Regions from separate parts of the Homo sapiens genome. Here all the other regions are linked to region 1. Evidence: promoter capture Hi-C in 16 types of primary human blood cells and fetal thymus (Javierre and others, 2016). All regions are on one chromosome and are shown on one strand. The core of a region is centred on a gene start or on the middle of the fragment in contact, and the rest is flanking DNA. Distances in the headings are between cores, read along the strand shown. Region 1 holds the start of ANP32D (acidic nuclear phosphoprotein 32 family member D). Region 2 has its middle 11 kb from the start of ASB8. Region 3 overlaps ASB8 (ankyrin repeat and SOCS box containing 8). Region 4 overlaps LOC105369750 (a long non-coding RNA gene). Region 5 overlaps SENP1 (SUMO specific peptidase 1). Region 6 overlaps SENP1 (SUMO specific peptidase 1). Region 7 overlaps LOC102725258 (a long non-coding RNA gene).

What was found. Contacts are between HindIII fragments. The CHiCAGO score rates a contact against its expected background, and 5 or more counts as called.
Region 2: a fragment that was not itself captured here is called in contact with the fragment with the promoter of ANP32D in region 1 in 3 of 17 cell types (M1 macrophages, M2 macrophages and M0 macrophages); the score reaches 6.5 in M1 macrophages.
Region 3: a contact is called between a fragment that was not itself captured here and the fragment with the promoter of ANP32D in region 1, in 1 of 17 cell types (M1 macrophages). The highest score is 5.3, in M1 macrophages.
Region 4: a contact is called between a fragment that was not itself captured here and the fragment with the promoter of ANP32D in region 1, in 6 of 17 cell types (M1 macrophages, M2 macrophages, neutrophils and 3 more). The highest score is 7.9, in M1 macrophages.
Region 5: a fragment that was not itself captured here is called in contact with the fragment with the promoter of ANP32D in region 1 in 2 of 17 cell types (M2 macrophages and total CD4 T cells); the score reaches 5.4 in M2 macrophages.
Region 6: a fragment that was not itself captured here is called in contact with the fragment with the promoter of ANP32D in region 1 in 1 of 17 cell types (naive CD4 T cells); the score reaches 5.1 in naive CD4 T cells.
Region 7: a contact is called between a fragment that was not itself captured here and the fragment with the promoter of ANP32D in region 1, in 3 of 17 cell types (megakaryocytes, M0 macrophages and M1 macrophages). The highest score is 8.4, in megakaryocytes.

The regions. Positions count from the first base shown.
Region 1 is chr12:48,471,069-48,474,246 of GRCh38, reverse strand. It overlaps ANP32D (acidic nuclear phosphoprotein 32 family member D), which reads right to left and starts at 1,688. Exons shown (of 1, transcript NM_012404.3): 1 at 625-1,688. The coding sequence starts at 1,582. The coding sequence ends at 1,187. It also overlaps a transcript of C12orf54 not described here. The HindIII fragment of the contact is 4,760 bases long and covers 1,381-3,178 here.
Region 2 is chr12:48,167,100-48,170,087 of GRCh38, reverse strand. It overlaps the pseudogene PHB1P18. Among named protein-coding and RNA genes, the nearest start is that of ASB8, 11 kb to the right of the region's middle. The HindIII fragment of the contact is 5,418 bases long and covers 1-2,988 here.
Region 3 is chr12:48,147,259-48,150,045 of GRCh38, reverse strand. ASB8 (ankyrin repeat and SOCS box containing 8) reads left to right here. Exons shown (of 4, transcript NM_024095.5): 4 at 48-2,257. The coding sequence ends at 680. Among named protein-coding and RNA genes, the nearest start is that of ASB8, 8.9 kb to the left of the region's middle. The HindIII fragment of the contact is 2,542 bases long and covers 1-2,523 here.
Region 4 is chr12:48,028,116-48,031,040 of GRCh38, reverse strand. LOC105369750 (a long non-coding RNA gene) reads right to left here. Exons shown (of 4, transcript XR_944904.3): 3 at 1,123-1,270. Among named protein-coding and RNA genes, the nearest start is that of COL2A1, 25 kb to the right of the region's middle. The HindIII fragment of the contact is 727 bases long and covers 1,205-1,931 here.
Region 5 is chr12:48,061,614-48,064,704 of GRCh38, reverse strand. It overlaps SENP1 (SUMO specific peptidase 1), which reads left to right. Exons shown (of 18, transcript NM_001267594.2): 13 at 864-995. Among named protein-coding and RNA genes, the nearest start is that of SENP1, 43 kb to the left of the region's middle. The HindIII fragment of the contact is 302 bases long and covers 1,446-1,747 here.
Region 6 is chr12:48,087,277-48,090,381 of GRCh38, reverse strand. It overlaps SENP1 (SUMO specific peptidase 1), which reads left to right. Exons shown (of 18, transcript NM_001267594.2): 5 at 1,422-1,581. Among named protein-coding and RNA genes, the nearest start is that of SENP1, 17 kb to the left of the region's middle. The HindIII fragment of the contact is 6,046 bases long and covers 1-3,105 here.
Region 7 is chr12:48,199,063-48,202,086 of GRCh38, reverse strand. All of the region lies in intron 1 of LOC102725258 (a long non-coding RNA gene), which reads right to left. Among named protein-coding and RNA genes, the nearest start is that of OR10AD1, 2.7 kb to the left of the region's middle. The HindIII fragment of the contact is 1,307 bases long and covers 888-2,194 here.

The sequences.
Region 1 (3,178 bases), core at 439-2,938:
AAAATTGTTCTAAGCACAGAAATACATGTAGAAGAATTCTCTCATCATTTTTGTAAAACAAAGCATTCTAATATTTTACAGAACAAGATAGGACAGTTTTTTTTTCTTGTAAAGAAGTTGAAGTTTGAGGGTTTGTTTCTTCACTTTTAATTATTATTACCAAATCCATTTTCCTTGTAACTCACAAGACTGCCATTTTCAGCTCTCTGGCTCTTAAGCTCTCAAGAGTAACATCTGAGTCCTCTTTGTAGAAGGAAGCCCACCACGATCTGTGAAGGGGGAAAAGGGATGAGAGATGGGGAATGTCCCCAAACCAGTGCCAAAATACACCTTTAGGTTGCTATTTACAAACCAGGGTGTTGGATGCCTCTAGCAGTTCCGCGAAAAGCATGTGAATCAAAGCAAAAGCTATGGCTGGTGCTCAGACCCTTCTGGGTGTTGAGTAACCAAACTGAGACCAGCCGCGGACTTCCACCCAACCTGAGACTTGGAAAATACCAGGAAACATAAGAGAACTCCAAACCATCTTCTTTGAGAGCCAGGAACAAATGCTTAGTGTGTACTTAACTATTGCATTTACAGGGACAAAAACTGGACACAAGGAAAAAGTAGGGGGAAAAAATAAAGAGTGGCAGTAAAAATAGTATTTTATTCCACCCCCTCCTCCCCTCCCTTCCCTCACAACCCCCAGTACACTTTTCCTCTCTTGCTCCCACAGCAACGTTACAATCAGAAAAAAATAAGTTTCAGGGGGCAGGATTGGAGTGGGGGAGGGGATACGGCTAAAAACAGTAAAATCACAAAAGGAATTTTTCAAAATAGATTATTCCACTTAGGCATCGTCTTCTCCCTCATCTTCAGTTTCTTATTTTCGCTTCTGACCCCTTTCTTCTTCACCAAGCTCTTCTTCATCTTCCTCATCATCTACCTCTCCATTGTTATAACCTTCATCCTTCTCCTCCTCGTCTCCACTCACGTCCTCCTCTTCACGTTCCTCCTCCTCATCCTCGTCCTCCTCATCTTCCATTACCTGAGCATCTTCATCATACTCCTCCTCATCCTCATCCTCCTCCTTGTCATCCAGGCACTCCACAAAGCCCTCACCATCCGAGTTAGGGGCCTCCTTGTCATCCGGGTCACAGCCGTTGAGATATGTGAGTTGCAGGAGGAGCTTGAACATCTTTTCTCAGTAGTTGTTCAGGTTGGTTACCTCGCAAGTGAAAAGGTCTAAGCTCTCGAGGTTTTCTAACTTTTTCAGGGGCTCTATTGTGCTGAGGTCTTTAATTTTGTTGCCACTTAAATTTAGATGTATGAGGTTTGGACACTTTTCTGCCAATACTTCTAGGCCCACTGAGGCTCTGTTACTGCTTAGTTCAAGCTTCTTAAGTTTGTTTAACTTTGGCAAGTTTGCAATTGAGGTGAGGCCTATGTTGATTGTATTTAATAATTCCAGTTCTTCAAATTCATCTGTGAGGCCTTCCAATTTGCCTTCATTTGACTGACTGTTGTCCAGGAAAAGTTCTTTCACATCGGAGGGCGTCCTGTTCCGCAGCTCTAAATGAATCCATTTGCCCATCTCCATCTCTCACGCTTTCTCTGCAGAGGCTCCTGAGCCAGCGGAATTCAACCAATAAACCCCGAACCCACAACCGCACATTTGAAAGCTCAACCAGCTCTGCTGGGTTCTCCGAAAGTAAATTCTTAATTCCAAACACACCCAAAATCTATTATCTCCCATCACATTAAATTGTGCTATCATTCACCCAGTTGCTCCAAAACCTTAGAATAATGACTACTTCCTCTATTTTTCTATTTTACATCAGATAGATGTATTGGCTGTACCTTTACAGTGTATCCTAAATCTGATCACTTCTCATCATCTCTAGGCCACGCCATAGTATATATCTCACGGACTGTTGTCAAAGCCTCCTAACTAGATCATTCTTATCTTCCTGCAGCAGCCAGAATGCTCATTTTAAAATGCAGAAAACCCTAAAGACTCTGCCAAAAGGTTAATAGAGCTGATAAACAGTTTTAGTAAGATTTCAGGATACAAAATCAATATACAAAACTAGTAGCATTTCTATACACCAATAGTATTCAAGCTGAGAATAAATCAAGAACACAACCCCATTTACAATAGCCACAAAGAAAATGAAATACCTAGGAATACAGCTAACCAAGGAGAGGTGAAAAATTTCTACAAGGAGAACTACAAATCACTGCTCAAAGAAACCAGAGATGGCACAAATAAGTGGAAAAACATCCCATGTTCATGAATTGTAAGATCAATATTATTAAAACGGTCATATTCCCCAAAGTGGCTTACAGATTCAACACTATTTCTATCAAATTACCAATGTCATCCATCACAGAATTAGAAAAAAACTACTCTGAATTCACGTGGAACCAAAAAATAGCCTGAATAGCAAAAGTAGCCCCAAGTAAAAAGAACAAAGCCAGAGACATCACACTACCTGACTTCAAACTATCCTATAAAGCTATAGTAACCAAAACAGCATGGTATCGACACAAAAACAGACACATAGACAAATGGAACAGAATAGAAACTTCTGAAATAAAGCCTTACACTTAAAAATATCTGATCTTTGACAAGACCAAGAAAAACAAGCAATGGGGAAAGGACTTTCTTTTCAATAAATGGTGCTGGGATAACTGGCTAGCCATATGCAGAAGAATGAAACCAGACCCTTACCTTTCACCATACATAAAAACTAACTGAAGATGGATTAAAGTTTTAAATGCAAGACTTCAACCTATAAAAATCCTAGAAAATATGCCCCAAAGAAAGGAAATTAGTATATAGAAGAGATATCTGCACTCCTATGTTGGTTCCAGCACTGTTTACTAAGATTTGGAAGCAACCTAAATGTCCATCAGCAGATGGATGGATAAAGAAAATGTGGTGCATATACACAATGGAGTACTCGTCAGCCATAAAAATAATGAGATCCAGTCACTTGCAACAACATGAATGGAACTGGAGTTTATTATGTTAAGTGAAATAAGCCAGGCACAGAAAGACAAACATTGCATGTTCTCACTTATTTGTGGGATCTAAAAATCAAAACAATAGAACTCATGGAGGAGGGGCTGGGAAGTGTAGTGGGGGCTGTTGGGGGGAGATGAGGATGGTTAATGGGTACAAAAAAATAAA
Region 2 (2,988 bases), core at 96-2,595, 300 kb after region 1:
TGTCTCTTTTCCCTAGAGTTTTAGCAACAAAGTGTACTCTCAAACTTTTGAATTTTTGCCAACATAATAAGAAATGCTGTTTCAATGTAATGTAATTTGCCTTTCTTTTTTCAGTGAGTTGTGCATGTTTTACTATTTTAAGGGCCACTTGCATGAATTGTTTCTATCTGTTCATGTCTTGTGCTCATTTTTCTACTGGATCTGTGTCTTTTTATTTCTCAGAGCTCCTGTAAATTAGGGAGATTACTTTTTATTCTGTTGTAAAAATTGCGATTGTTTTGTCCAGTGACTCATTTGTCTTTGGCTTTGCTTATGGTATTTGGGCTATACATTTTTAAAAAAACAATATATAATAGAATTGGGTGGCTGGGGAATTCATGTGTAGATCAGAGTGGAAGCAGGTGTGAGAGGGTCCAGCAGAAGAAAACATGGCAGCCAAAGTGTTTGAGTCCATCGGCAAGTTTGGCCCGGCCTTTGCTGTTGCAGGAGGCGTGGTGAACTCCGCCTTATATAATGTGTATGCTGGGCGGCAGAGCTGTCATCTTTGACCGATTCCGTGGAGTACAGGACATTGTGGTGGGGGAAGGGACTCACTTTCTCATCCCATGGGTACAGAAACCAATTATCTTTGACTGCCATTCTCCACCTCGTAATGTACCAGTCATCACTGGTAGCAAAGATTTACAGAATGTCAACATCACACTGCGCATCATCTTCCGGCCCATCGTTAGCCAGCTTCCTCGCATCTTCAGCATCGGAGACGACTATGATGAGCGTGTGCTGACGTCCACCACGACCAAGGTCCTCAAGTCAGTGGTGGCTAGCTTCGATGCTGGAGAAGTAATCACCCAGAGAGAGTTGGTCTCCAGGCAGGTGAACAACGACCTTACGGAGCGAGCAGCCACCTTAGGGCTCATCCTGGACGACGTGTCCTTGACACATCTGACCTTCGGGAAGGAATTCACAGAAGCGTTATAAGCCAAACAGGTGGCTCAGCAGGAAGCAGAGAGGGCCAGATCTGTGGTGGAAACGGCTGAGCAGCAGAAAAAGGCAGCCATCATCTCTGCTGAGGGCGACTCCAAAGCAGCCGAGCTGATTGCCAACTCACTGGCCACTGCAGGAGACGGCCTGAGTTGCCCAAGCTGGAAGCTGCGGAGGACATCGCGTAACAGCTCTCATGCTCTCGGAGCATGATCTACCTGCTGGCGGGGCAGACCGTGCTCCTCCGGCTGCTCCAGTGAGGGCCTGCCCACTCTGCCTGCACCTCCGCGGGCCAATTGAGCCACAGCCCCGATGATTCTTAACACCGCCGCCCACCCCCTCCACCCCAAAAATCACTGTGAAATTTCATGATTGGCTTAAAGTGAAGGAAATAAAGGTAAAATAACATATATATATACATATATATGTAATAGAATTGACTAGTCTTTTATTGATTCTGGGTTTTGAGACATAGGAATGCTTTGCCCGCTATTCCCAGGGATGCATGGGTAGTTTACACAGAAATCTACACGTGCCTTCTTCTAGACTTGAAGAGTTTCCATGTAGTCATGTTTAGCTAACGAAGCCACGTGGAGTTTTTCTTGGATGTGCAGTATAAGCTATGGATCCAATGTTACCTTCTTCCACATGGTACCCAGTTGTCTCAACAGCATATATTTTTAAAGTCCATTTTTCACATTGTTTTATAATGTCTAACATACATTAAATTTTTATATGTACTTAGATTGATGCCTAGACTTTCTACTATGTTCCATTAGTGTGTCTGTCTATATGCACCAATTTTATACTAGTTTGATTATGAAGGTTTTGTAATATCTTAAATGTCCGATAAGACTGGCCCCTCCTCATTGCTCTTCTTTTCAGGACTTTCTTGGATATTCTTGTTATTTCTTCCATATGAACTTAAGAATCAATTTGTATAACTAAAAAACAAAGTGAAACAAAAAAACCCTTGGCTTTTTTATTGGAATAATGTTAAATTTACAAATTCACTTAGAATGTCTTTCATTTTTTTCAGGTCTGTTTTATGTCTCTGAAGCTATTATATTAATAGTTTTCCTCATAGGCTTTACATATTTCTTTTACCTTTATACCTAGGAGTTTTGTAATTGTGGTCACTATTACCAATTGGCTCTTGATTCCATATTATTTTCTAACTGGTTCATCCTTGTATCTTACGTGTGAAGCCTGTTGACTTCTGTATATAGCTTTTATATTCTGCTACCATATAGATTCATCTTTTTGTTTGTGTAGTTTATTCATTGATTTGCTTTTGTTATCTAGGTATACCTATATCATCAACAGTTTTCACACATCCAATAGGTTTCTTTTGTAAAAATGCATTGGCAAATACCTCCAACATCGTGTTAATGTTACAGTAATGGTGGGTATCCTTGTCTTGTTTCAGACATTAACAGGAATGCCTCCAGTGTTTTCCTATGAAAATAGTAAGATGATGATAAACAAGATGCTGTATGATGTTAAGAAAATTATCTCCCATTCTTCTTTTGTAACTTACTTTTATAGGAAATTCAACTTTAATTTTTTCAAATGCTTTTTCAGCACCTAGGAAGATAATTACAGGACTTTCCTTCTTAGATATAATTATATTAATTATATTAATGAATTTCCTAACATTGGACCATCTTTACCTTCCCAAAACAGTTTCTACTTTGTCATGACATACTGTGCTGTCTAATTCAATTTGCTAATTTTTTTAAGCATTTCTGCCTATGATATTCATAAATGATATTGGTTTGTAATTATCTCTTTTGTATAATCTTTATTAGGTTTTGGTTTCAATGCTATATTTATGTCATTAAAAATTTTTGAATTGGGATAAGGGGTCTTCAAAGAATATCATTTTAAACCATCTTGGACACTTTTAGAAAGAGATATATATATAGGCCAGGCATGGTGGCTCATGCCTGTAATCCTAGCACTTTGGGAGGCTGAGGTGGATAGATCACCTGAGGTCAGGAGTTT
Region 3 (2,787 bases), core at 3-2,502, 320 kb after region 1:
TTCCTCTCAGTAGTCTGTCTACTGTAATAGTTCCTCCCTTTTTACAGGTGAATGCCCTGGATGGGTATAACCGAACAGCCCTCCACTATGCAGCAGAGAAAGATGAGGCTTGTGTGGAGGTCCTATTGGAGTATGGTGCAAACCCCAATGCTTTGGATGGCAACAGAGATACCCCACTTCACTGGGCAGCCTTTAAGAACAATGCTGAGTGTGTGCGGGCTCTCCTAGAGAGCGGGGCCTCTGTCAATGCCCTGGATTACAACAATGATACACCGCTCAGCTGGGCTGCCATGAAGGGAAATCTTGAGAGTGTCAGCATCCTTCTGGATTATGGCGCAGAGGTCAGAGTCATCAACCTAATAGGCCAGACACCCATCTCCCGCCTGGTGGCTCTGCTAGTCAGGGGACTTGGAACAGAGAAAGAGGACTCTTGCTTTGAGCTCCTCCACAGAGCTGTTGGACACTTTGAATTGAGGAAAAATGGCACCATGCCACGAGAGGTGGCCAGAGACCCGCAGCTATGTGAAAAACTGACTGTTCTGTGCTCAGCTCCAGGAACTCTAAAAACACTCGCTCGCTATGCCGTGCGCCGTAGCCTGGGACTCCAGTATCTCCCCGATGCAGTGAAGGGCCTTCCACTGCCAGCTTCTTTGAAGGAATACCTGTTACTTTTAGAATAGCCGGAGAAGATGTTTGCACCATCGTGCAGGCAGCTCTGGGTGAGGTTGTCCCTGCAGTACTCCTTGTCACAGAAAACAGAAAAACAGTTGTTCCTGTTGTGTGGTTTATAGATTTCGAAGCAACATGTCACAACAATAACCTCCATAGCACCTCCCCTTCCCAAACCAAACAACCCAACAAAAAAAATCCCTCACTTTTGTTTTCTGTTTATTGCTTACCTGGCTTTTTATATTGCATTTTGCAAAAGAAGAGGTCTCCCTCAATCCTCCCCTTTAGGGAAGGAGTCAACAGTGTAACTAAATTTCTCTAGGAAGATGGAAAGTACTTAAATAATGTGTGTGTGGTTTTCCTTTGGGGACGTGGTTAACGGTCCAGAAGAATCCCTTCTAGAAAGCATTTTAGGCCAGCCATGGTGGCTCACGTCTGTAATCCCAGGACTTTGGGAGGCTGAGGCAGGTGGATCACCTGAGGTCAGGAGTTCGAGCCCAGCCTGACCAATATGATGAAACCCCGTCTCTACTAAAAATACAAAAATTAGCTGGGCATGGTGGCATGCGCCTGTAATCCCAGCTACTCAGGAGGCTGAGACAGAAGAATCGCTTGAACCTGTGAGGCAGAGGTTGCAGTGAGCCAAGATCGCGCCATTGCACTCCAGCCTGGACAACAAGAGCAAAACTGTCTCAAAAAAAAAAAAAAAAAAAAAAAACCATTTTAATTGATCTGTGAAAAAACTTAAGAAAATCACAATTTCAGCTAACAGCAATTGTGTCCCAAAGATGAAGATACTATAACCTCAAATGGTGCAGATCCAGAACTGGGCTGGATGACATCCCTACTGTGCCATGTCCTGGGGCATTTGGAAGGGACTGGACCTCTTTCCCCTCATCAAAGGAAACAGCAGTCTTTGCCTCTTTCTGTTGGTTGTGCCCAAGGGCTACAGTAGCTCTGAAATAACAAGAGCTCTGTAATAACAGTAATAAATAGCTCTGAAATAACAGTCCTAAGAACTCCTAAAGTCCTGAGAACTTTTCTTGTAATGCAGCTTTTTCTCTTCCTGAGAAACAGTGTGTTCTAATGGGATTCCCAGGCAGTTCCTACACCTACGGTGTGTGTTCCAGCAGGGAGGAGTTATGGGCTGGGCTGCCTTTTCCCATGGGTCTTCATTCCCAATGGAAAGTTCACTCTGCTTAGTTTGGAATTATTTTTCTTTCAGTTGTTCTGGAACCTTTGCTTTTTATTGATTTATACAATACAATTGGTGGGAGGGTGGACTTGGGATGGGAGTGGGAAAAGCATGTAAGAGCTCCTTTTGTGATGGTCCATCTACCCAAAAGAGATCTGCTTTAGTGAACGATACTCTTTCATTTTTCTAAATTAGATCAAGTTGTTATTGATTTTAGATGACTTGTATGCAAATTTGAAAAACTTTTTTTTTTAAAGCTGATTGGGAACTACAAACAATGAATGGAATCTACTGACACAGCTAATTGGAAAACAGATGTCTTCTTCTGTCCTATTGATGCTGGTGTTTAAAAAACATCACTTAAAAAAAAAGAATAAATAGTTCTAAAAGCAAGTTTGGCAATTTCTACTTTTCCTACTTTTCTCCAACCCCCCTTAGAAAAAGTTCTTCGTTTACTGCCTGGCTGTTCTATGTAACTTTCCATCCCAACCTTTCTCCCATTAGCAGCAGTGATTCTGGGCATTGCTGGAGTGAACAGGAGGGCTTGGGCAGAGTATCTGAAGAGCTTCCCCTTCCTTTATACCTTCTCCCACCCCAAATTTGGAATTACTGCTTTTATGTTCTCAACTCCAGCTGCACATAAAATCACTAAGGAAGCTTTTTAAAAACACTGGTGCCAAGATTTCACCTCATACCAATTCTTTGGAATTTTCTGGGGTAGGACTGGGGGCTTCAGTGCTTCAAATATAGCCAGGAATGAGATTCCACTGTGTTAGTCAGTGGTTCTCAATCCTAGTTATTAATTAGAACCACCTAGGAAAATTTTTAAAAATACTAAAGCCCAGGCTCCACCCCCAGAGATTGATTTAATTGGTCCAAAGCAGACCTAGTAGGGCTGGCCACAGTGGCTCACGCCTGTAATC
Region 4 (2,925 bases), core at 319-2,818, 440 kb after region 1:
GACTGTCCCAGGTCATTCTTGGGCAGCCTCTGCCATTAGATTGGAGAGAAGGCCCAGCACTCTGGGTCTACACAGACTCTGAATATAGAGACCTGGATTCATGTTCTGTTGCCTAAGAGCTATTAATACACGATGGTGAGCATGTTACTAACCTGTTTAAGCCTCAGTTTCCTCTACTGTGAAAACAGAGGTAATAGGAGTTTCCTATGTTGGTTCATTCTCCGTATGGCTCACCCATGATCCTAAGATGGCTACCTAGAGAAATATGGCTAAAGGAATGGGTCATTCCCTCTTGTCTTGCTGGCACCATACAACTTGGAGAACCTGTTCAGATATGCTTCCATAGATCTGCTCAACAGCCCCGGGAGGTAGACAGGGAGGTTTACTATTTATGGTTTACAGATAAGAGAACCAGGCTGGGAAATTCTAAGTGGTTTGTACAAGATCACCCAGCTAAAAAGCAGGAGAACTGGGACTTGAATCCAGGCCTCCTGAATTTGGTGACAGTGCAGACTTGCTCCGTGCCATCAGGCCTGGCTCCTGGGAAGGAACACTTTGAGAAGCCTTAGTGGGGCTTGGTCTCATGCCTCACCCAGGGCCTGGCCATAGTGGGTGCTCGGGGGACCTTTGTCTTTTCTGCCACAGCCTGAGCCAGAGTGGAAGCTGGGCTGTGCAGCAGAGCAGGAACCCAGCAGGTGGCAGGGACAGCCTGGCTGTGCCTGCTTTCTCCCTTGGTGGTGGGGACCACATGCTAAGCTACGTCTGTAAACATGGCCACAGCCTCTTTCTGATCCCTTGAGCTCTGTGTCTCTGCATACACGTCTCTTGGTTTTCTTTCTCCTTTGACTTCACTCTCCTCCCCACTCTCCCCATGCCCCTCCTCTGTCCTGGATTTGATCTTCTGTCTCCTGGCCTCCTTGTCTCTCTCAACATCCAGTGTTTTTTTCTCTTGTTGACTTCCTCTTTCCCTCTCTCTCCCTCAGTTCCTCCTTTGGATCTTCCTGGGTCGAGCAGACAAGTGAGAGGCTTCTGCCGTGCTCAGGGCAAGAGGCTGCTGAGCTGCCCTTCCGTCCCCTCCTCCCTCCCCACACATCCCTCTCCCTTGCCCTGGCCCCTCATCACCTTGGCTGGCTCCTCCTTGATGCATGGGCTGAGGCGAAGGTACAGGGAGGCAGTTAGAGCAGCTTCCCTGGATACAAAAGCTTCTTTCTACCCCTTGGAGATGAGGTTTCCAGGCAGGTTATTTTTATAGCAGGGCTCAGGCAGGATTCTTCAGAGAAAATAAACAAAGTCATACACACCAGTCCTTCACACCCTTCAGCCCCTTCCCTGGAGAGGGGCCCAGCCTAGCTGTGCCGACACAGGGACGCCCACCACCCCAGAGGGGCTGTGGGGGCTGCTGCCGGGATATCAAGAGGCCAGGGGTCTGGGATGGGGGAGGGGGCGCCAAGGAGGGAGACTGACACAGGTCCCCTGCAGCCCCAGTCAGGCCAGGAGGAGATGGCTGGAACCTTGGGGTCCCTGCCTCACCACTGGGGCCAGAGTCTTGGGTCCGGCATCTGTAGGGGAGAGTCAGATTCAAATGCAGGCGTAACCCAAATTTTCTAAATGCTTACCAAGTGCCAGGCACTGTGCTTGCAATTTACAAACACATTTTACTTATTCCTCATCACTGAATTCACTGAATTCAGTAGAAGTCATTTCTACAAGTTGCCACTTAGTATTGGCCTCTATGTGCCTGGCACTCTGTTAGGTGCTAGGGAGACAAGATTAAATGACACATGGAGAGAGAGAGAGCTCAGAGAGCTTTCCAGCTGGTGAGACATTGATTGAATCCCTTACTATGAAGATTTCAAGGTGGATATTTTTATGCTCATTTTGCAGATGAGAAAAGAGACTTAGTGAGGTCAAGTGACTTGTCCAGGGAAGCTTGGACCTTTGATGTCAAGGGCATAAGGGATCAGGGACTCAGAGATCTCTTGGGGCAGGTTTCTTGGGGGTAGAAATGTCAGCTAAGAGGGTGTAGAGGGCAAGAAGCCTGAGATGGGATAGGAGAACAAGGTACAAATCCACGTGCAGTTTTCCTGGGGTCTTGGGCCATTCCAGACCTAGGGTGGAGCACACGTGGTCCCTCATTCTTGAGGGCAGGCAGTCAACAATATCTTGTCTAACAGATCCCAGAAAGGAAGGCCTTTCATAACCAGATTGGCTGCAGTCTTCTCAAAGCTCTTTTATGAGGAAGCCTCAGGTTAAAAAAAACTTCATAAATCATGTGCATTCCCCGTCAGGCATGACAAAAATACATGACCCTTGTGGGTCCCTGCCCAGTGAAGGCAAACAGCTCACTGAGGCAACGCTGGGAGTGCACACAGGCCTGCCACTGTCCTCCACCTCCCTCAGCCGAGCATGTTCCCCAGCTCAGGGCAGCCCCCATCATCCTTGACAGGCCAGGGAATTCCAGATACCAGACAATCATTCTAATGACCCTTCAGGAGTGAGTTTCAGTGTGCTGCCTTAGCCTCCACAGGCATTCGGCCTTTTTTTTTTTTCTTTTGAGGTGGAGTCTCGCTCTGTCACCAGGCTGGAGTGCAGTGGCGCGATCTCGGCTCACCGCAACCTCTGCCTCCCGGGTTCAAGCAATTCTCCTGCCTCAGCCTCCTGAGTACCTGGGACTACAGGCACACGTCACCACGCCCAGCTAATTTTTGTATTTTTAGTAGAGACGGGGTTTCACCATGTTGCCCAGGATGGTCTCCATCTCTTGACCTCATGATCTGCTTGCCTCAGCTTCCCAAAGTGCTGGGATTACAGGCGTGAGCCACCACGCCCGGCCTCATTCAGCCTTTTTATGACTAATTCTGGAATGAAGGAATGTGTCTGTTTCAGAAGTTCCAAGTATCAATAGGTAGAGTTCTAGTGAATTCC
Region 5 (3,091 bases), core at 347-2,846, 410 kb after region 1:
ACTCCATCTCACATACACACACACACAAAAAGCCATAGAACACGTGTTATTTAAATTTTCTTGTATATTTCAGCTTTCGCTTATTTTATATACCAATCTGGGCTTTATTTTTAAAATATTGAAAATTTATGAAAGAACTATGGGTGGCTTTTAACAGTTTCAGTGAAGAAGCATTTAATACATTTGTCTTTCATGTCATGTGCATTTTTACTTAATGCACACATACAATAGTTTGACCTCAAATTGTAAGCTGAGATTTGCTCTTTTTTTAAGTAATAAAACCCATTATAGAAAATTTGGAAAATACATGGAGGTCTGTGTACATTTTTAGATAATCCGTTTCTTTATCCATACTTCTCTTTGAAACACTACCATGTAGCTGGTGAGCATAACACACTTATTATAGTTGTACTGAATTCCATACTTTACATTTAAAAAAAAAGATCTCTAAGAAAGTAATTTCTAAAAGATACTGCCTTTACTCTCTTACTACCTTTTATGAAAAATTCTGTTTCTCAGGAAGTCATTTGGACCAGAGATATAAAATACAGTTAATTTTTCTCATGTGCTTAGAAAATTTGATAGCGGAAGGTTGTTCCAGACTTTAGGAATTAATATGGAAACAAGGATCTGAATGTTGTGCTGAAAAAGAGAAGGGAGGACTAGATGAAGTGGAAAGAAGTAATCGGGGATTACTGGGAAGGAATAGAAACCAAAATGTTAGAAGTAAACTGATTAACAGTAAATTTATAAACAATCGAATGGTGATAAATATAGTCTGAGGATTATATGGGGTTTGGTGAGAAATACGGTTTTTCTGAAGCCACGCGTGTTTGATGTCTTGACACCTTTTGTTTTCTTAGGAAATGGAGAAAGAAATAAAGAATGTATTTCGTAATGGGAATCAGGATGAAGTTCTCAGTGAAGCATTTCGCCTGACCATTACACGCAAAGATATTCAAACTCTAAACCATCTGAATTGGCTCAATGATGAGGTAATGTTGCATCTATTTTTACATACAAATAGTAAACATTAAGTGGCAGTTAAATTAAGGCATTATCTCACTTTTTCTCAAAATGTGGTCCATGGATGACCTGCATTGGAATCATCTCTCATAGGCCTCTTCATTCTTGTAACTATGAGGGAGTGTGGTGGAGACAGGCATTTTTAACAAACATCTCAGGTGTATTTTAAAGTCTGAGAACCACTGAATTTACCTTTTCTTGTTGAAGATTTGAACATTGAAGAAGACATTCACTCATTGGTATTCTCACTCTTTAAGGCTCCTATTCTGCAGTTCATCTCTTCTGAACAAATAAGTATTAGCCGACCATGTTGCAGCATGAGGGAATACTGTGGGATTTCTTTATAGGAATCCAGTTTTACTTCCCTTTCTACCTAAGTTCTACTCATTTTAGATCACTTATATTACGAATGACAAGCTTTCCAAAATCGCCTCCATTTATGTATGATATTTTTTAAATGGACATTGAAAAAGTTATATTATTATTAAATATTTGAGGTATTGGGGGAGAAGTTACGGTCTTCACCTCCTAACTCCAATTTATTTTAAGTATATTAATTACACTACAGTTTTTAAACTGATCTGTTCCTAAGCCTAAACCTGTAGGTACCTGTTTTATTTTAGAAGGTTATTTTTACAGCAAAAGAAAACTGGGTTGGGTATCTTTTCCTAAGTACCTTCTTTGCATAAGCATCCCTGGCTAATCTGGGTATACTCAAGCTTCACAGCTGTGGAGGATTTTTAGTTTCTCAGTGTAGTAATCATTAAATATTTTAGATATCCATATCCTGTTTTTGTATGATCAAGACCTTCCAAATAATATTTGCCAATAACTATTGATCATTTACCTCATTAGTACGATTCATGTTTTATGTGTTTTATTCTTGTAATAGTCATCATATCTTTGGAAGTAGATATGATAGTTCACCATTCTGCAGATAAAGAAACAAGGCATAGAAAGATTTAAAAACTTGCAAGGTTATACAGCTAGTAAACAGCAGAGCCAAGATTAAGACCCAAGCATTGGGTCTTATCTACTATATCTTAACTACCTCAGAATCTTAAATTGGATACTGGTCTTAGGATCAGATATATAGAACTTAGGAGCCATATATCATGTCCAGGATGCTTTTTTTCTCTGGGGCCAGCCCCATTCTTTTTGCCACTGGTTGGTTTATAAGATAAAAATTTCAGAAGCTCATCACTCCCTGAATAATATCTGTGACCAAGAATAATAAGGAAGGCATGGTTTGTTACTGTCTTTCTTTAGAAGAAACCCTCTTTGCCTCTTTTGGCTCAGATATTAGAACATTGGTTCAAATAATGGAAAAAAAGAGCTCACCAAATCAAAGGAGGAAATTAAATCAAGGATAGTTATAAGTATCCACTGATAAGTTATTTTTGATCTGTGGTCCTTTGCCATTTATTTCCTGCCATTGCTGGTGGTGCGAGGTCAGTTACTCTAAAGGGATAGTAGGCTTTAGTTTGTTGTAAATCATGGAAAACCTCCTAGAGGGCAGCAATCAGTAGGATATGAGCTGAGTTCTTGCTATTTACTGTGGCATTTACCTCAGTGAGATTCCTTACAGAGACAGCATTCATCAGGACATATTTTCCATTCCCTGGGCCCATCAGAGGCTGGATTTTTAGCAAGCTAAGTTAATGGAAATTACATTATTTTAGAGGAGATGAGAAGAAGGAAAGATTCTTTGTCTACTTTATCCCTACCACCCCTAGCCATAACTTTTGTAGAAGGAGTGCATTTCTTCTCAGTTCAGAATGATGTTATCCTTGAAAATGAGTGCCAGTTCACATGTCCATAATAATGATGGGAGCTATCTTAAAAAGCACCATTTTCAAAGTACCATACTTCGTAGGCTTTCAAAGTTACTGCCCTTGAGAAGCTAACATCCTGATGGAGTATTATTAGGTATCCTTAAGTATTGATACTCATTGAAGAATACTTAATTTTGGCCAGACACAGTGGGTCATGCCTATAATCCCAGTGCCTTGGATGGCTAAGGTGAGAGGATCACCTGAGGCCAGGAGTTCAAGAGCAGCCTGGG
Region 6 (3,105 bases), core at 76-2,575, 380 kb after region 1:
CACCTGTTAGGGTAATTTGCATTTTTGACAGACCGATGCCTCAGATAGATATCTGTATTTAGATCATGCCCTAATCAAATTTTAGCCAAAATGTGTGAGAGACAAATATTTCTACTGTTACAACTTTAAACTTAAGTATAATAATTTTCTAGTTCTTTACTAAGACTCATTTTCATTAGCATCATGTTTCTATCCTCAAAATTATAGTAATAGATGCTAAGCATAGATACTGATTACAAAGGAACAAAGTTACAATTCATTTTGAAAGTAAATTAGCTTATTTTAATTATCAGACTAAGGTCACCAACTGTTGAATTAACAAGTGCTAATACCAGCCATGACTTCTTCTTTTTTCCTATTTACCCTAAATCCTGACATCTTGATTAGCTTACAGAAGCACAAAATTATATTTTGGAAGGCTGCCTATTTGGATAGAGCATGAAAAGATACATTAAATACTTTTAATAGCATAAATTTACAATATTGCGAAAAGTTCTATAGTAATATGTTTTAAAAGAATATCTTCAAAATAATGTCAGCATTAGAAAAAAATTCCAGAAATAGAGAATTATTATTCTTGTGTTTTCACTGGAGCTCCTTAGAGTTCCATAACTTAATGTCTGAAGTTATTTTGAGGGAGCTGTTTTAAATTGTCCAATTCTGCAGATAGGGAGAGGAGGTTATAGAAATTATTCTACCACTCCTAGCTGAAACTTCAGGAGGTTTTTGATATGCCAGATTGTAATCCACAAGTTAGAAAATTCAAATAATAAGTAATTCTCAGTTAATCTGATTGTAGTAGCAAACATTGGAGTAATAATATGTTTGATTATGGCATTAGATGACTGAAGATTATTATACCAGAACCAGATATATATGATGGGTCATTCCTTGCCATAAGCCAACCAGAATAAGCAGCAATTAGGTTATCTCTGCTCTTTGAGAGAGTACCTGAGTCTTGAACATGGTAACTAAAACGAAGAAAGTGACACTAGCTGCTTAGTAATCAATAACTGTTGTTCATTTGAATTACAATTCTCACTGGCCCCCCACCTGCTTTCTTACTGGTCTGGCCTACCTTCTTTCAGGCCCAGGCCTGGGAGTGCTTGCAAGATATAGTTGGGGTAAAATGTTGACTTTTGGTGGACACCACGGAGTCACATTGATGCAGATAAGGCACATGGCTGTGGCAGGATTCAGCTCCTTCATCAATTTTCAGGTTAGTATGGCTGAATCAATTATAGTTTGTAGAAGTTCCCCTACTGCAGACTTTACTGGCAGTTGAGACTGGGATCTTTCTTCCATGAGAGAAATGGTGACATGCCACATTACTTTGGAATACAATGGTTGGTCATGGTTGCAGTCATAAGGAGAACCACCTGTAGAATTTGTTTAATTTATTCAAACTTTTATTTTTTTAGATAATCCTTCCTCAGACAGTTTTCTTGGCTCAGGCGATTTAAGAACCTTTGGCCAGAGTGCAAATGGCCAATGGAGAAATTCTACCCCATCGTCAAGCTCATCTTTACAAAAATCAAGAAACAGCCGAAGTCTTTACCTCGAAACCCGAAAGACCTCAAGGTTCGTATTTTGTCATCTTAGTTCTCAAGCCCTTCCTCAGACATAAGAGAAAGTGACTAAAAGGTAGATAGTTATTACATTGGGATTTTAAAAGAGTAACACCATTTTTGGACTTTAAACCTTAAGGATATGAACAAATCCATTTTACATTTTCAACTTCTCATTTACTTAGTGCTGAATTTTGATGATAGCCAGATCTTACTAGAAGAGAGAATTTTAAGTAAATCTTGGTGGATATGAGAATATTGGGAGCCTTCAAGATCAATATGGCTCTTGCAAATCTTAAAGTGAAAATCAGTCAATCTCCACAATTTGAGCAGGAAAGAAACATATTTTACAGCTATCAAGTGAGCAGAGACCTGACTTAAACTAAAGCAGTTCTCTACCTCATGGCATTAGTCAAGTAGACCAAGCTACTTCTATATATTAGAAAATAAAGAGTCACAGACCGGGCACGGTGACTCGTGCCTGTAATCTTAGCAATTTGGGAGGCTGAAGCAGGTGGATCACCTGAGGTCAGGAGTTCCAGACTAGCCTGGCCAACATGGTGAAACCCTGTCTCCACTAAAAATACAAAAAAATTAGCCAGGCATGGTGGTGTGTGCCTGTAGTCCCAGCTACTTGAGAGGCTGAGGCAGGAGAATCACTTGAACCTGGGAGGCAGAGGTTGCAGTGAGCTGAGATCATGCTGCTATAGCTCCAGCCTGGGTGACAGAGTGACCTCGTCTCAGAAAAAAAAAAAAAGATAGTCACAGAGAACTTTATGCTAGTTATTCCAACTTTATAAGCTCTATCTAACAAAACTTACATGGATTATTAAAGGCAGATGAAATCTGGCTTAGAAACTTTTCCCTCAGATATTTTGTTATATTAGTATTTATTATATTAGTAAACATTTCTTTTTTAAAATAGTATTTATGACTACTTAAATTCTGCCCTGGTATATTTTAGGAATGTGGGATTATTTAGTGTACTGTTTAGTCAAGTTTGAGCTTTATGGTGTTGATAGAAGCCAACAAGATGGCTTTTATTATTTTATGCACATGGACTCCAGGAATGTGTCAATACTCCCTGGGATCATGTTCCTCACTTAACTTTTAAAAAATTATACAGTAATTCACTCATACACTCACATTGTAGAAATCAACACATTACCAGCAAAGCTGAAGATCCCTTGACCACTACCCACAATCCCAATCCCTTTTCCTTGGTGTGTTTCCTTCCAAACCTTTTCCTATACCTATTTCTCTCTTACTCTTTCTTACTCATATATAGTATGATATATATGTTGTGTATACTATTAAATGTATGATATTATTTTGTCTTCATTAAAGATTTTCTATATGCATCATTTAGCAGGTGGCTTTTTTAATGCAATAAAGCCATGCTGTTATTTTAAAAAAATGTTATTACAGAAGTAGTACAAATACTTTGGGAAAGTTTAGAAAATATAGTTAAGAAAAATAAAAAATAAAAACATCACATTGCCACCAGCCTGAGATCAACTCTGTAATATCTTAGTAC
Region 7 (3,024 bases), core at 292-2,791, 270 kb after region 1:
TTTCCTCAGTTTCTTTTCCTCTTAAGTTCTCACAACAGGATTCAATAAATAAGTGCACTTAACTCCATTTTATTTGTATATACCTTTACATGCTAGTCCCCCAACCTGAGTTTCGTACATACATTTAGAAATAAACTCTTTTATTTTTCAGCTCTTCATTTTACTGTTTTTCTTTCTCAAATTCCACTCTCACTTCCTGGGTCTACCCTCATCTACCCAATTCCTGTGAAAAGTAGGTAAAGAAGCAAGAAAAAAAGGGCTGGGCGCAGTGGCTCATGACTGTAATCTCAGCACTTTGGGAGGCTGAGGATGGAGTTTGAGACCTGCCTGGGCAACATAGGGAGACCCATCTCTACAAAAAATTTAAAAAATGAACTGGGTGTGGTGGCACATGCCTGTAGTCCCAGCTACTGAGGAGGCTGAGGTGGGAGGATTGCTTGAGCCTGGGAGGTTAAGGCTGCACGAGCAATGATAGCACTGCTGCACTCCAGCCTGAGCAACGCAGCAAGACCTTGTCTCATTAAAAAAAAAAAAAATGAAGAAGAAGAAGGAAGGAAGGAAGGGAGGGAAGGAGGGAGGGAGGGAAGGGAAGGGAAGAAAGAGGGAACTAGGGGTAAGTACTCACATAAGAAAAGTCAGTTAAAGAAAAAAAAAAGATCAGCACCCTGAACTTCATCTTCTTAGCTTCCACCAGTCATGGGGGGAGAATGATACTAAATGTCAACAGTGCACTCAATTTGTCTGTGTTGTGTGTTGTCGGGGACGGATGGGTGATAGAGGCCAGTGTGCCAAACCCCTTCTCCTAAATCCTCTAGCTTCCTTTAGCAACAGGACCGTCTGCATGATATTTCCCTTCCCATGCAAGTGGCAAGTGCCTCTACCAAGCTTCTCAGGTTACCTATTTCCTTCCCTGTTATCCATACCCCAAATTAACTCCCCTCTCCCCCTACTGCCTTCCTTTTTCTCTTCCATCTTTCATTTCATTCCACCTCAATCCTACTCCACCTTACCTCCTCATCTTACATGGATCCCTGTATTTTAAGGAACCCTTCTGCATACTACCTCTACCATTGCAGAAGTCTTTCAATTTGTAACCCTGCCCTCTGTGGCTTCCTCTAGCTTCTCACCTTAACCAAACACAGCTTTCTTTGAGAAGGTACTACATCCTCAGCAGTTCTCTTTCTTTGAAAATTGCATTTTTCTCATACCCCTTCATAATAAAACAAGGGGGTAGGCCTGTTCTTTATTTCGCAGTGCACTTCCATAATATGAATGGACCTCATTTGGGATGCTCTCAAATAGATGTACTGCCCTTTCCACTCCTGCGCATCACACACTACCCTTTGCAATGATGACTTAAAACAGTAGCTTCTGGCAGCACGTGGTGGCTCACACCTGTGATTCCAGCACTGTGGGAGGCCAAGGTGGGCAGATTACTTGAGGCCAGGAGCTCAAGACCAGCTTGGTCAACATGGTGAAACCCCGTCTCTAATAAAAATACAAAAATTAGCTGGGCGTGGTAGCGCATGCTTGTAATTCTAGCTACTTGAGAGGCTGAGGCAGGAGGATCACTTGAACCCAGGAGGCAGAGGCTGCAGTGAGCCATAATTACACCACTGCACTCCAGCCTGGGTGACAGAGTGAGACTCTATCTCAGGCAAAACAAAACAAAACAAAACAAAACAAAAACAGTAGCTTCACTCCACAAAACTCCAATCTTTTGAGTCCAAATTGATTTCTCCAGAAATCAGAGGATGTGAGAAGCTCTTCTTAACAAGGAGAAAGGAGAAACCACTGTAATTGGGAAGAAACGATAAATGCAGAACCTAAAATTTCCATTGTCAAAATTTGCATCAAAGTTAAACAGGCAAGAAAGACCTTAAGACTATTGCAATACGAGATTAAACTCAACACTACTCAAACAAGGGTCTGGGAAGTTTTTAAGAGCTGCTGTACGGGAAATCACATGACATCTGTGTTTGCTAACTGCAAAGGAAAAGGACACTTTCTTGTATCTTCAAAACAAGCTGTAGTTTTACAATTCCAAACAAGGCACCCACAGGAGGTTAGGCTCCCACCCTCCCACAGAGACTGAGAGATAGGGGTGCTATCTTCCTTGATGATTACATTTCAAAGGGATGGCTCACAGGTCCTTGAGAAAGACATTCCCTAGGTCGTAAAACTGGCATAAGCTTCTAAGGAGATTTATACACATTTCAAAGGAGCAGAGAAGAATTTTGCAATCACAAGTTTTCTAAAGTAAACACTCAAAGAAAGGGGAGGTCAGGGCCCTAACATCCAGAAGAAACCTGTCTAAAGTTGTCAGGCTGAGGTGAATGTTAAGGCTCTTTTGGTCACCACTGAGAACAACAACAAAAAGGTCCCAATCTTTCCCCCTAGGGTCTCAGCTTCTTCTCTAGGTTTGAAAATTCCTATCTCAAAGAGGAAAAAGTGAAGGAAAGGAAGAAAGGGAAAGGAGAAGAAAGACTGCTTTTAAAAAGTTTTCTAAGAAATCATTTCTTAGCTTTACATTTGCCCAGCACTGACAGACGCTGAGATTATAAACAAGACAGTTCCAGCTTTTGAGAATCTCAGTCTAGTAGGGCAGGCAAGAACAAATAATGGTAATAGAAAGGGCAAGCGTTATAAAAGGCCTACACAAAGTACTTTGGAAGCACATATGATAACATACTTATTAAGCACTTATATTGTAAGAGCTTTCCATTTAATCGTCACATAACCTTATGAGGTACTAGTATTATCTCAATGTTGAGATGCAAAAACTGAGGCTCATAGAGGTCAAATACTCAAAATCCACAGCATTTACAATGGCATAGAGGCCTGCGCCTATAATCCCATACACTCAGGAGGCTGAGGCGGGAGGATTGCTTGACCCCAGCCTGCAGTAAGCTATGATCCCGCCACTGCACTCTAGCCTGGGCGACACAGCGAGATCCCATCTCTAAAAAAAAAAAATTAAACTAAAGAAAAATAATAGAACAGCATAGCTCCTGTTCCTAAGCC